Regions from separate parts of the Homo sapiens genome. Here region 1 is linked to region 2. The links are contacts of gene promoters, found by promoter capture Hi-C in human tissues and cell types (Jung and others, 2019). All regions are on one chromosome and are shown on one strand. The core of a region is centred on a gene start or on the middle of the fragment in contact, and the rest is flanking DNA. Distances in the headings are between cores, read along the strand shown.

What was found. Contacts are between HindIII fragments. The study calls those that stand out against the background at their distance.
Region 1: a fragment that was not itself captured here is called in contact with the fragment with the promoter of USP13 in region 2 in 1 of the 25 tissues and cell types used here (lymphoblastoid cells).

Annotation. Positions count from the first base shown.
Region 1 is chr3:180,262,374-180,269,653 of GRCh38, reverse strand. No RefSeq gene overlaps it. Among named protein-coding and RNA genes, the nearest start is that of LINC02053, 150 kb to the left of the region's middle. The HindIII fragment of the contact is 4,424 bases long and covers 1,361-5,784 here.
Region 2 is chr3:179,651,786-179,659,394 of GRCh38, reverse strand. USP13 (ubiquitin specific peptidase 13) reads right to left here and starts at 6,355. Exons shown (of 21, transcript NM_003940.3): 1 at 6,002-6,355. The coding sequence starts at 6,169. RefSeq lists an enhancer at 5,882-6,525 and silencers at 6,194-6,533, 6,544-6,623. The HindIII fragment of the contact is 11,294 bases long and covers 1-7,609 here.

The DNA of each region.
Region 1 (7,280 bases), core at 2,323-4,822, 610 kb before region 2:
ATTTTCAACAAAAACAAAAACAGAAAAGTGAGACCTAAGTAAACTAAAGTACTTCTGCACAGCAAAAGAAACTATCAACAGAATAAATAGCCTAAAAAATGGGAGAAAATATTCACAAATTATGCATCTGACAAAAGTCTAATATCCAGAATCTATACTAAAAGAATTCAACAAGCAAAAATAAATAACTCCATTAAAAATAGGCAAGACATGAACAGACACTTCTCAATAGGAGATATACAAGTGGCCAAAAAACATATGAAAAAAATGCTCCACCTCACTAATCATCAGAGTAATAAATCAAAACCACAATGAGAAATCATTCTAACAACCAGTCAGAATGGCTGTTATTAAAAATCAAAAAACAATAGACATGGATAAAAGGAAACACTTATCCACTGTTGGTGGGAATTTAAATTAGTTCAGCCACTGTGGAAAGCAATTTGGCGATTTCTCAAGGGACTTAAGACAGAACTACCATTCAACCTAGAAATCCCGTTACTGTGTATCCATCCAAAAGAACACTCATATGTTCATCGCAACACTATTCACAATAGCAAAAACATGGAATTAACCTAGGTACCCATCAAAGGAGAATTGGATAAGGCTCTTCCTTTATAGACGCTTTATTTTAAGGGGATGAATAATACTTTGTTGAGTGAATATTTCTTAGTTTACTTAGGCAGTCCTCTAATAACCACTGAAGTTGTTTCAAAGGTTTAAGTATTATCACATAGCAAACATCTTTATATCCAGTAATCTCTGAAAAAAAATCTCTGATTTTAATTTTAGATGAATACCTAGAAGTAGAATTCTTTGTTTTCTTTTGTAAAAAGCTATAAATTCTTTGAGCCTCTTTGTGTATAGTCCCAAATTAGTTTCCAGAAAAGTTGTACCAAAATAGTCTTACACCAGTGTTAGAGAAGAGTAACTCTCTCAACATACTGTCACCAGCATTAAATATTAATTTTCAATCAATTTTGTTATTTAATGTAAAGAACATATAATCTTTTTGACTTATCAAAAGGAAAATTACTTTCTGTTCATATGAATAGCAGCCTGCTGGTCAGCAAGTTTTGTGAGCCCCTGCAGAGACAGCCTAGAAGTCAATTATCAATATTCACCATTGGAAATCTTGCCTTCGATCAATATATTTGGAAGAAATGTGCTATCACGCATGTTATGTGATACAGACTTTATTAAACTTGTTCTCATTTTTTAAAAAGCTTTATTCTGAACTGAAGGATAATAATGAGCATTGACTTTAGACGTGGTCTTTTATTTTAGATGTAGCTGTGCATTTTATGACTGTCTTAAATTCACTCAATGCTTCTTTCTTGAGAGCATTCATTCGATATTTAAGAAACATTTACTGCGTGTATACAGTGTTTTGGTATGTATTATTTAACATACATTTATTAAGTATCTATAGTATTCTATGATAAACTAAGTGTTGAGGCACAGTGGGAAAGAAAACAGTTCTTGTCCTAAAAGCTTAATCCTTGTACGTGATTTACAATAGCAAATTCAAATAGTCCAGATAATCTCAGCAATTGGAGAAAATTTCTGAAAATATATCTGCACATTATGAGAAATAGAAGTGAAAAATTCAACTTTCTGACTGCCAGCCAAGAGCTCAATCTACTTAAAAATAATTGTACATCAGGATATTTCAACTAATAATGTTTGTGTATCATACAATTACAATTAAATATATAGTATGTACATGTGACTTAGAAACCAACTAGTCTCTATTCTCTGTATAAAAATGGACAGAGAAAAGACTTTTCTTCATATGAAATATGTAGAATATTCATAAACTCTGTTTTATCTTTATACATTCTATAACTTAGTTTTTTTTTCAGAAGAGAGATTAGATTCTAGTTCAGAAAACACGACTCAGTGCTATCTGATGTTCATTTCTGTCTTTGAACTGCACTGTCAATGACACTTCAAAAGAAAACTGGACACAGGACTTGGCACATACTTTAAATGTCAACATTGAATCTCCCTGACAAGAAGGAAAACCCTCAGAATTTTCGACCAACAGACATAGACCATCCTGTTGCTGTACTTCTCAGTCTTGGTGACAGTTCTCCTATTTGTCTAGAGCTTTTTCTGTGTCAAGAACATGTCTTTCTTTATTAGGCATATCTGGATTTATAATTCTCTTCATGAAAACACTGCTTAGAAGCTATCTCCTGGCCACAAGATGTGCAGATAATATCACTTTCATTTTCTGCTCTCCCCTCACAGTGCTCTAAGAAGTTAGTTTCTCTTTTGAAAGATGGCTTACTGATTAGAATGGAGTCAGGACATGATTATAGAAAGACAGTCTAGTATATAGTTAGGCCATGTCAGGACAGTGACTGGATAGTGTTACAAACGTGAGGGAGCTTTATAGCTCTCCAGTCACCATGCTAGTGAGGAGCAAGTTAAGGAACCATTATCTGAATGTCTGAAATATCAAGGGCATGTTTCTCAACATGCTTCAGTAAAACAGCCAATAAATACATCCTTCTGTTTTTCTTAGCACTTTCCTGTTCTTAGAGGAGTAGGAGTACTTTTTGTGGAATATTGAAGAAAGAATAGTTTTATATGTCAGACAGACTTGGGTATCAGTCTTGATGCTACTAAGTAAGTATGCTGTCTTGGGCTTAAGCTCCCTAAACTTCCAATTCCTCACCTATAAAATTGGGGAAATACTTTTAAAGAAGTGAAGCATAACTCCTCACTTCTGAAGTGTGAATTGTGCATAGTGACTTCCTTCCAAAGAGTATAGTATAGAAAGAAGGAAAAACAAGTAACTACAGTGGAGAAAACTGACAAGCCTGACCCCAAGTTTAAGATTAACAATGATGCTCATGTTAATAGCATATATTCTTGATATCATGTGATGAGAATGGCATTTTTCTCCCTTCTCCCCAAAAAACCCCATAATCCCAGTCTTATGAGAAAAGTATCAGAAGAAAACAAACTGAAGGACATTCTGCAAAACACTCTAACCAATACTCCTAAGCATGGGAAAATCATAGCCATCTTTACTTGATGTGAAGATTAAAACATATGTTTTAATTATTACATTATTATTGGATAATTACATATCATTCAAAATATACATTCCCACCCCATTAACATCAGGTTTGGCCATGTGACTTGCTTTGACAAATAAAATGTGAGCAGAAATGAAGCGTGTCCCTTCTGAGCTTCTATCTTGTGGCTTTCATGCTCTATTTTTCCTCTAAAACCTCATTAAGAACTCTCAGACAGTCAACCCAGATCCTAGAATGTAGACAATTAACTGCTGAGTGGCAGTTGACCTGGAGTATATATGTAGCATGAAAGAGAAATCAATGTTTTTGTAAGCTACTGAGATGTTGAGGTCATCCTTTGATAGCGTAACTGAGCTTAAGCTGAGGACCTAGTTCTAATCAGGTAATGGAGTCCATACATTTTTACCTTCTGTTTCCCTCCGCTTCTTGCTCTTCCCCCATGTCCCCTCCACTTTCTTCTCTTTCCCCTTCCATCAACTTTTCCTTCTCAGATTATCTTATAATTTATAAGTATCTCCTTCCCACTAACTGCCTTTAGACTTTAGCATTCTAGCTCTTCTTACATTTGCTCTTAGTTGTTTACATCACTTAGATTTTTCTGGTGTTTTCAGCTAGAAGCATCCATGAGTGATTGAGGTTGAGATAACCTCCTTCTGCTATTCATCTGCCTTTCTTTTTACTCTTTCTACATTGGTTTCCTGATGAAATTGAATTAAAATTAAGATCCAGAACCCTTTGAATGGAAAAAGAAACCACTACAAGGGAAATTAAGGGTGTTTTTAAAGAGGTTAGGAGCTGATTATAAGCATGTAAGCCTCATACTTTCATTTTTTCTTTTAGCATCAGCCATCTCCTGAATCACTGCCCAGTTGCCAGATGCAAGTTTCTTTCTCCAAAGTAAGCCTGGCCAATTCAGCAATTCTTGTTGACTCATCCAGCCTTCTTGTTCACCCAGGACTTACTTAGGCATCCAAAATGAAATTAAATTTAGATTCCTTAATCCTGAGATATCTGTACCTGATAAATGATGCATAGGACATACAGACAGAAAGGATTCCTCTTAATTATGTTCAATTTTAATTTCACATGGATGCAATTTATATGGGAAAATATGATTAGGTTGACCCAGCATTCACAAAATCAAAATATCCAAGCAACCATCTTTACAGGAAACGAATATCCATAGCACACAACTAGAAGAATCTCTGATGGGGTGGTGCTGTCAGACAGTATCAGAAGGAGCTGGTGTTGTGAAGTTAGACACATTTCACATCAGTTTCAAGATTAATTCGGTGGCACAGATAGCAAGAGTTGCTCACTGTTATCAGGTAAGCACACACGATTTTTTTCTAGTCTCTGGTAAGAAAGATTGAAGGGGTTGATTTTCCTTCTCAATTTCAATCTTCAAATTTATATTGCCATCTAAGGAGGTCATTTATCTCTCTCATCTGAACACATAGGATATGTCTGCCCAGGAGGATTCTCTGGGCATCTGGGAGCAAAATATGAAGTTAGTCTGCAAGATAGCTGATTGTTCAGGAATAACCCATGAACTTCTTCCATGAAAAATCCTGATGGCATGGCTGTGCTGGGAGTTTAAAGGAGATTGCCCTTTCAACCGCACAGGGGTTGGGTGTTATGGTGGAAGTGGGAAGAATGTCATAGGGTTTCAGAAAAATGCAAAAGAAGAGTGAATACTTTTTCTTTGCCAGAAAAGAACCTTGAATAGGATGCATTTTTCTAGTACAAAAAACTTAATTGCGTAGTTCTGAAAGATAGATCATTGTTCAGTTCATTTTGCTAGAGTTGGCAACTATGTAAAATTTGGATAAACCCAATTCTAAGTCCTATAAATGTTTGTTGGTGGTTAGAGCTCTGTAGCTTCTTAAAAAGCTGACTGGGCAATTTTCACAATGTTTAAGAATTACGTAGAATTTCCACTACTGTTTCTTTCCAGGCCAAGAAAGAGAATGTCGTGGGCAGTAATGGATGAGACAGTCCATCTGGAAAACACTTATTTGCCTTACAGGTTTTGTTAATTCAGCAAATTGGTCCTAAATTTTTTTGAACTCATTATATAAACACTTGCTGGTCATCAAATTGCTATTTTTTCTATCCCTAGCTCAATTTTTTTTAAAGATTATTTCACTATGTACTTTAATTTTTGAAGTTTCTTTGTGGGAACAAGAGCTAATTTGCTAAGTACTTTATCCTTTTTCATATACAAATTTTACAACATTCTAAGGATTTCTGAAAATATACTTTGAAACACGACTTACACCATCCACTTGAAGACAAAGCAGGAAGGTCATATAGCAAATATTCTGATCATCACATGCAATTGCTAAGAAGAATAAATCAATAGAAACAATTAAAAATGTGTCAAACATAATAAAAAGAACAATTATCCAACAAACGGATGCTTATAATCTTGATAGCTTGAGATGGAGGTTAAGCCCAGAAAGTACATTTGAATTCACGAGAGAAAGAAATGCACTTTTAAAATATCAAAAGATAAATAGCAATATTTTTCAAAATACAGATGCTCCTCGACTTATGATGGGGTTATGTCCTGATAAACCCATCACAAGTTGAAAATATCATAAGCCAAAAATGCATTTAACACATCTAACCTACTGAACATTATGCTTAGCCTAGCCTACCTTGAACATGCTCAGAAAACTTACATTACCCACAGGTGGAAAAATCATCTAACACAAAGACCATTTAATAATAAAGTGTTAAATATCTCATGTGATGTGTTGAATACGGTATGAAAAATACAAAATGGAATGGTTGGGTTACTTGAAATTTGGTTTCTACTGAATACATATCACTTTTATACCATCATAAAGCCAAAAAATCATATGTCAAACCATTTTAAGTCAGGGACTGACTGTCTGTATATCGTTTCTATCTTTTTAGGACTTGACATAAGGCATTCATGGGGTCCAGGGAGAACATAATTAATTCCTAAAATAGCATGTACTTGTGGATAGGTCATTCATAGAAAACTTTACTTTGTAAGACTTCAATATTCAAATATTAGCATATTACATAAAAATATGAGGGATGGACAGAGCACTAATGGCCAAGGAGAGTTACTAGGGACAAAACTCCTGGCTTGGTTCTAGATACAAAGTCTGTGTCTAGATTTTTGAATGAAAGGAAAATGGAAAAATAATTGGGGATTTGGAGGATATGGTGAATGCATATCCTCCACATTTAAAAACAAATTTTGTGGGTACATAGTAGGTGTATATATTTATGGGGTACATGAAATGTTTTGATACAGGCATGTAATGCATAAAAATCACATCATGAAGAATGAGGGCTGGGCGCGGTGGCTCACGCCTGTAATCCCAGCACTTTGGGAGGCCGAGATGGGCGGATCACGAGATCAGGAGATCGAGACCATCCTGGCTAACACGGTGAAACCCTGTCTCTACTAAAAATACAAAAAATTAGCCGGGCGTGTTGGCGGGCGCCTGTAGTCCCAGCTACTCGGGAGGCTGAGGCAGGAGAATGGCGTGAACCCGGGAGGTGGAGCTTGCAGTGAGCTGAGATTGCGCCACTGCACTCCAGCCTGGGCGACAGAGCGAGACTCTGTCTCAAAAAAAAAAAAAAAAAAAAAAAAAAATGAGGTATCCATCCCCTCAAGCATTCATCCTTTGTGTTACAAACAATCCAGTTATACTCTTTTAGTTATTTTAAGTATACAATAAGTTATTATTGACTATAGTCACCGTGTCATGATATCAAATAGTAGGTTTTATTCTTTATTTTTTTTGTAACCGTTAATCATGCCCACCATCCCCCCACACTCCTTCTACCCTTCCATCTGGCCCTATCAGCCATATTTCTCCATAAGTTCAATTGTTTTGATTTTTAGAACCCACAAATTAGTGAGAATATGTGAAGTTTGTCTTTATGAGCCTGGCTTATTTCACTTAACATAATGATCTCCAGTTCCATCCAGGTGGCTGCAAATGACTGGATCACATTCTTTTTCATGGCTGAATACCACTCCATTGTGTATAGGTACCACATTTTCTTTATCTACTCATCTGTTGATGGACACTTAGGTTGCCTTCAAATTTTGGCTGTCATGAACAGTGTACAACAAACATGCAAGTGCAGATATCTCTTTGATATACTGATATCCTTTCTATTGGGTGTATACCCAGCAGAGGAATTGCTGGATCATATAGTGCTCTATTTTTAGTT
Region 2 (7,609 bases), core at 5,106-7,605:
AGGGAGCACGCTTTGAAAACTGCTCTATATACATGTGAGATGTCATTATTATTACTGGCAATGCCTGAGAGAATACCAGGCACACCACTAAATACTTGTGGAAGAAAGGACAGAAAGACAGAGGATTCACTGAGCCCCTAACATGAAGTGTTCCCACAAGTAGATGGAGATCTCAAAGTCTTTCCTGGTGGATATCTAAACCAGCCACTCCCACCTGATGGCCCCTGTCCATCAGAGTTTCCAAAGACTCCCAGGAAGACAAAGAACCAACAGTGACATCTCAATATCACCGAGCCATCTCAGAGCTTTCAAAAATGGGAAAAAAGCTCCTTCTTAAAAAACAGTCCCAATGCGAGAAGGGAAGAAGAGGTGGGAGTAAGGGGCAACCATTTATGCTGAGTATCATATCCCCTCCGGCCACCTTTTTGGTTCAGCCACTGTATGCAGCTGATTGTCACAGCAGGTGTGGCCCAACAGTCTTAGCCTCAGCTGCACTGAGGACCTCTTGCTTCTCAGCTGCTGCTGGTCCTGCTCAGCTTGTCAAAATACTTCCCATTTGCAGGCTTAGTGCCTATAAATACAGACTTGGAAGAGCGAGGGCTTTTCCACCCCTAGAACAAACCTTGACCAATGGGGGATGGGAGCCAGTGGATAAATACAGTACTCTCCCCAGCTCCATCTCAAGTGGACAATTCTGAGGCACATTCTGCAGTTACCCAAGGAGTCCCCAGTGAGGTTTAGCTCTAGCTGCCCACTGTGGAAGCCAGCTCCATAACTCACTCTTGGACTGGCTTTCCTTCTTTCTCTTTGTCACTATTCTCTTGCTCATAATTCCACTTCTGTTCCCTGGGATAACTTTCCAAAATAAACTGCCTTGTCTAAGCCTCCCCGTTTTCAGTTGACCCAAGCTAAGGCAAGGCATAAACAGCTCCACTTACAATGCAGGTGGGGAGGGGGGCAGAATTAGCACAAGAGAGCCAACTATGAGGACAGACTAGAACCGCTGTGCGGCATGACACAGACTCTACGTAATGCAGGCATTCAGAGGAAAGGATGAAGTCTGAAGCAGAAGATGAAGGTTGAGAGAGAGCCCAGACAAATGATCACAAGAGGAAGGTGGTCTTAGAAAAGGAAATCAGTTGGCCAGGTGCAGTGGCTCCCGCCTGTAATCACAGCACTTTGGGAGGCCAAGGTGGGCGGATCACGAGGTCAGGAGTTCAGGACCAGCCTGGCCAACATAGTGAAACCCCGTCTCTACTAAAAATACAAAAAATTAGCCAGGCGTGGTGGTGGGCACCTGTAATCCCAGCTACTCAGGAGGCTGAGAAAGAAAAGGAAATGAGTCTTACACATGGACAAGCCAGAGACTCGCCTCACTGGAACTGACCACCTGGAAACTGAAGAGACACAGGACAAAGTACACTCATAGAAATGAGGAGCTCAACAACCAAAGAGATGAGAGGAGATTTCCATGCTGGTCCAGGGAGGCTTATGAGCAGAAGTGTGAACCAAGACATCCCTCCTCCACTTAAGCACACAAAACTTCCTACACAACCCCTGACAACCAGACTCTTGGGCTTACAACTTGTGATTAACTCTTTTTCTTTCTTTTTTTTTTTTTTTTTTTTTTTTGAGACGGAATTCCCCTCTGTCACCAGGCTGGAGTGCAGTGACGCAATCTCGGCTTACTGCAACCTCTGCCTCCCAGGTTCAAGCGATTCTCCTGCCTCAGCCTCCCGAGTAGCTGGGACTACAGGTGCGTGCCACCACACCCAGATGATTTTTGTATTTTTTTTAGTAGAGACAGGGTTTCACCACGTTGGCCAGGATGGTCTCGATCTCTTGATGTTGTGATCTGTCCACCTCAGCCTCCCAAAGTGCTGGAATTACAGGTGGGAGCCACAGCACCCGGCCATGACTGACTATTTTTCTTTCTTCTTTCTTCCTTCCATTCTTCTCTATTTCCTCCTTTTTAATTTTTTTATTTTATTTTATTTTTTTGAGACGGAGTCTCACTCTGTTGCCCAGGCTGGAGTGCAGTGGTGCAATCCTGGCTCACTGCAACCTCCACCTCCTGTCAAACTCCTGACCTCAGGTGATCCACCTGCCTCGGCCTCCCAAAGTGGTGGGATTACAGGCGTTAGCCACCGCGCCCCGGCCTTTCCTCCTTTTTTAAAGCAAATGTGTATGTGATTACTAATTGGCCAGACACACTTTATGTATTAATTTATTTAATCCACAAAATAACCTTTTGAGATAGGTTGTTACTGTCTCCATTTTACAGATGGAGAAACTGGGGCTCAGAGAAGTTACACACTGAGTGACGGAGATAGGATTCAAACACTGCCAGTCTGGGCTCTCTCCTTCACGACTGTCCCCAACAATCAATGAAATCACCTCATTCTATGTGGTAATCCCCCATGATTCCTTTCTCAGTATTTCCCATATGTTTTATCCTCACCATGTGCAGGGCCTGTAACTCCATGGAATTCATACATTTCCAAAGCATTCACTGAGCTCCTGGTATATATACCAGATGCTAGACCAGCTGCTGGAAATAACACAAAGTCCCCACTCTCCAGGAAGGTCGCACTCAAAGGCAGAGACAAGCACGTGAACATGTCACTGGGGGTTAGACAGGAATGCTTATGGGGTCTGGTGGAAGGCAATATGGAAATGATTCATAGAGCAAGAACCACTTGAATTCAGTCTTGAAAAGAAGCTCCACTGGGAAGGTGCATTACAGACCTTGCACAATGAACCAAACCATGGAGAGGTGAACCTACACGTCAAGGTGGGAGGGTGGGTCCAGGATGAAATCAAAGAGGTAGGTGAAAAACAAATTCTCACTCATCCCAAAATAGCTGTTATTGAGCATCTGCTATGTGTTAAGCCCTAGGAGGTGGGAAGAAGGGAAGAGAGATACTAATACACTACTCATATCCCACAAAGGTGAAGAATGGCAAAGGTCTACAGACAGTGCCTTAGACATGGTAGGTACACTGTGAATTTGTTGATTCACAATCTTCCTCCAACACCACTTTAAATCACATGACCAAGAATAGCTTTCCATAACTGACCATATAAAATCAAGATCAAATGTTTTCCAGATTCAAGGCCCCCATCATCTACTCTCTACTTGGTTCTACCTCACTTCTTGCTACTTGCCAAATGTATCTTTTTATTCCAAATACATTACAGGCAAATTAGTGGGAAATATTCACACGTTGTATCTTCTTTGCACATATAATTTCCCTGGCCTTGAATGTTGATCTCCCTTATTTTCTAGCCATCTTTGTACATAACCTTTTTCAACAGTAACCAATGCAGGGATGATTTCTTTTTTCCACTCAGCTGGTTTTGGCCTTTTCCCTAAGACATCCCGTGGCACTTGTGGATTAAAGTTTCTGGCGTGTTTAGCACCAATGGATTTTGCTCTTTATGCTCCTTACAGTCATGCATGTATGAGATGGCACATAGTAGGTGCTGAAGAATCCCTTATTGGATTCATAGTATAGTGTTACATACCATAACAAAATACTGGCTGGGTGCAGTGGCTCACGCCTGTAATCCTGGCACTTTGGGAGGCCAAGGTGAGTGGATCACTTGAGGTCAGGAGTTCGAGAGCAGCCTAACCAACATGGCGAAACCCACCTCTACTAAAAATACAAAACTAGCCAGGTGTGGTGGCACACGCCTGTAATCCCAGCTACTTGGCAGGCTGAGGCAGGAGAATCACTTGAATCCAGGAGGCAGAGGTTGCAGTGAGCTGAGATTGTGCCATTGCACTCCAGCCTGGGCAACAAGAGCAAAACTCAAAAAAAAAACAAAACAAAACAAAAAAAACCTTCCCATTATCACGCACTGTGCTTTAAGATAAATATTATCAAACCTTCCCTTCCTCCCCTGAAACATAGATAATGAAATATACTGATTCATCAGCCTTGTAAATAATCCCAGTCTCCCCTAAGGAACTGCTGTGATATGATTGCAATCATCAGTCTACACTGGACGAGATGTTTCTAGAATAGTAACATTCTAGAAACACACACAGTAAGCTCCCAATAACTATTTGTGGAAATGAATTAAAACAATCAGCCTTTTTTCCCACACCTGTTATCCACTGCATTATGCAGCAAAAACTTCCAAGAGCAAAGTTTGTAAGCAGAACTTGAAGAAGAGCCCAAATCAAAACATGGGGAAAGTCATTTGACCCACTTTCCATGTTGTGCTATCCTAAAAAACTTAGGCCACTTTCTTCTTCCTGGAGGTAACAATCTGTCAATTGCTTAAGTTAGGACCATCATCCCTCTCCACCTTTAGAAGCTATTAGTGGGAACTGCCCAACACTGGCCATACAATCTGAAAATGGCATTTTCAAATAATTTATGGATAACATCCTAAAAAAGGACTGCCGATTGTCACACTCCACTCTGTGGATCTTTTCGAAAGAAAAAAAAAGTAAACAATCAAAAATTAAGTTAGGTTTCATCCCTCAAATGATATGGAGTTACCATAAATAAAAAAACTAAATGTCACAGAGAGGATACTAACTCTGATACTCCAGTGTGTGTCGAGCAAAAGTGCTTTGAAGCCAGCCAAAATCAACCCACAGATAATAAAGGAAACTTTGGAAATGTTGCCGCTCATTTGGACTTTTCTTTTCCCCTCTGACAATAGTCCACATGCTATGAATAAAATACATTAGACCATTGCGAGACCTGCCTCGGTCCATCCAATCCATGCGCCTCCCAATGCATTGAGATCTGCCGGGTGACATATGAGATCTAAAGTGGGTGGATAAAAATAACCTGGTCCTCAAAAAGACATGATAAACGCCAGACAGCTGAGTCACTTTGAAGCCCATTTTGACTTTTGAAAGGGACATTCACCCTCCTGCTGCTTCTCACACATTCACATAGAACCAGGTGAAAACCACCACCAACCGCCCCGGGTGGAAGGCGGCGATCCCTCTCAGCTTCCTCCTCATTCTCCGAGGTCACGACTCGGGATTGAACTTTTAATAATTTATACTTGCGCATGTCAGTCCAAGTGACTCATTTAGAAGGGCAAGGTGGGGAAGGCTTAAGAAAACCATCGCAATCCAGTAGATCCCCTATTTCTGCTGCCCGAGTGGAGGCACCGGAAGGTTTCGTCTGACATTTTTTTTTTTTTTTTTTTGAGACGGAGTCTCGCTCTGTCGCCCAGGCTGGAGGGCAGTGGCGCGATCTCGGCCCACTACAGCCTCCTCCTTCCCGGTTCAAGCGATTCTCAAGCCTCAGCCTCCCGAGTAGCTGGGACTACAGGCTCCCGCCACCGCGCCCGGCTAATTTTGGGGTTCTTTTTTAGTAGAGATGGGGTTTCGCCATATTAGCCAGGCTGGTCTCGAACTCCTGACCTCAAACGATCCGCCCGCCTCCGCCTCTTAAAAAGTGCTAGGATTTCAGACGTGAGCCACCGCGCCTGGCCCTGACATTCTAAAGACAAGAAAAGGAGTGGGGTGAAATGGGAACTGGTGGAAGAAAAGCTCAGAGAGCAAATCAGAATTGTCCAGAAGTGGGGATCCCTGAGCAAAGCAAGTGGTCCCAGAAAAAGAAGGGCTGTGTGTGTCCCGGGGTGTGGGGGGATCATCCCGTCCACCTACCCGCCCTGCGCTCTGCCCCGCGGAGGACGCAAACGATCTGCAACGTGCAGTTCGGAACAGGGAACTCTTGTATTTCATCTATCTTTAAACGGCGGCGGGGCTGTGTGCAAGCTGCTGGGAATCGGGCCCTTCCAGCCTGGGGAGGCTGGCGGAGCAAAACCACCAGCACGAGCCAGTCCTCGGCTGCAGCAGCCCTGGGGCGCTCACTAAGTGTCTGCCGAACTGCAGTGTTCCTGAGCCAACTCTGCCGCCCGGAGGAAGAGAAGAGGTCCCGGCCGCCACTGCGCATCTTCTCCCCCGGCTTCACGTGCCGCAGGCCGCCGGCCCCGCGACCCTCCCCCGAGGCGCCTCACTTACGGGAGAGTCGTAGGAGAAGGCGCACTCGTTCTTGTAGACCCTGTCGCCGGACCTGGGCACGCGGATCGTGGGCATGTGGGGCACTAGCAGCTCGCCGATGTCTCCTGCAGCCATCTTCCTGCCTCCGCTGCCGCCCGGCATGCCGAACAGGGCGCCCCGGCGCTGCATGGCCTCGGCGCGCACCGGAGCCGAGCGAGCCGAGCCGGAGCCGGAGCGCGGGGTCTGCCGGCGGCGGCGGCGCCAGCGAGCGGGCTGACGGGCGGGCTGCGCGGGCAACGGCAGCCGGCCGAGCCGGGGCGGGCGGGGAGAGCGGGCTGCGGGGCGGGAGCGGGCACCGCGGGCTTGGGGCGGACTGGCGACGCTATTTTTAATCCAATGGCGAGTCTCCGGCCCAGCTGCAGCGTCAGGCGGGGCTGGGGAGCGCCAGCCGCAGCGTGCCGGGGAGGGGGCGCTGGAGAGGGGCCCTGCGCGTGGGCCGGGCGCGGCGGCGGGGGGCGGAGGGCGAACCCCTGAGGCGTTGGCGCGGGAGCTCGAGCGGGCTGGCGGCCGAACGCGGCGCGGGAGGGCCCCGGGAAAACACCACGGAGGTGTTTTCTATCCCGAATTGTTGGCTTGCAGAGGGGCAACTCCGAGGAGGCCAACACAAAGAGCAGGATTGGGGGTTTTAAAAACCGCTTGCTTTTAAAACAGCCGAAGACTAGGGCGGTGACGTCCCCGGATTGGATAGGGGCGGGACTCGATGTGCAAATCTGAAATCTAACGTGAGGCTTAAATCTAAATTTGCGCCATGCACTTCAGTGCTTCCCCACTAAGCTTCGTTCCTTACTTTAACATCCAAGGCTCAAAAATAGAGCGAATAGAATAAGATCGAGTGAGGATAGAGGGTGTGTGTGTGGGGGAGGGCGGGGTGTGTGTGGGAGTGTGTGTGTAATAATAATACAGGTTTTCTTACATATTGGGGGAAGTCAGGGATGGTCAAGATTTTTTCAGGGCGTCGGAAGGCTTTCTATTTTTCTCTGCCTTTGGAGTATCTTCTATGTGATTCAAAGTTCTCATGTCGAACATTCAGTGGCCTGATTTGAGGATTTTGTAGGCAGGCATACATATTCCTGTCTTGATCATCAGTTCCTCAAAATAAATGATGAATGGGGTTGGCCTCGGGGGTTGATCATTTGCAAGCAGAGCATGTCTCCCAGCATACTCTCATTCTCTCCAAAAAACCCACAAGACGGGTTCAATGACATTGAGGTTCTCTAACTACACCCAACATATGTATTCATGACAGAGTATCCAGTGATCCCTGCCAGTTAATGAAATGCAGAAATAGCGAGAAATAGTGAACCAAAACGCTAATTTTTGTAAGCCTCTCTCAGATCAGATAGTCCTTAAGTTCTTTTTTTTTTCTTACTTTTTTTCTCTTTTAACTCTCCCTGGTTCTCCAGACCTATCTCAAGATTTCCATACCCTCAAGCAAGCCTCGAGCGCACCACACTTTCTTATAACTCAGCACTCCCAAATGCTATCTGTTGGAAAAGGAGGAGGTGGCACTGAGCAAAAAATCAGACACTACTGTCATCTTCCTCATTGGGCAGATCCTCTCAGCGAGCT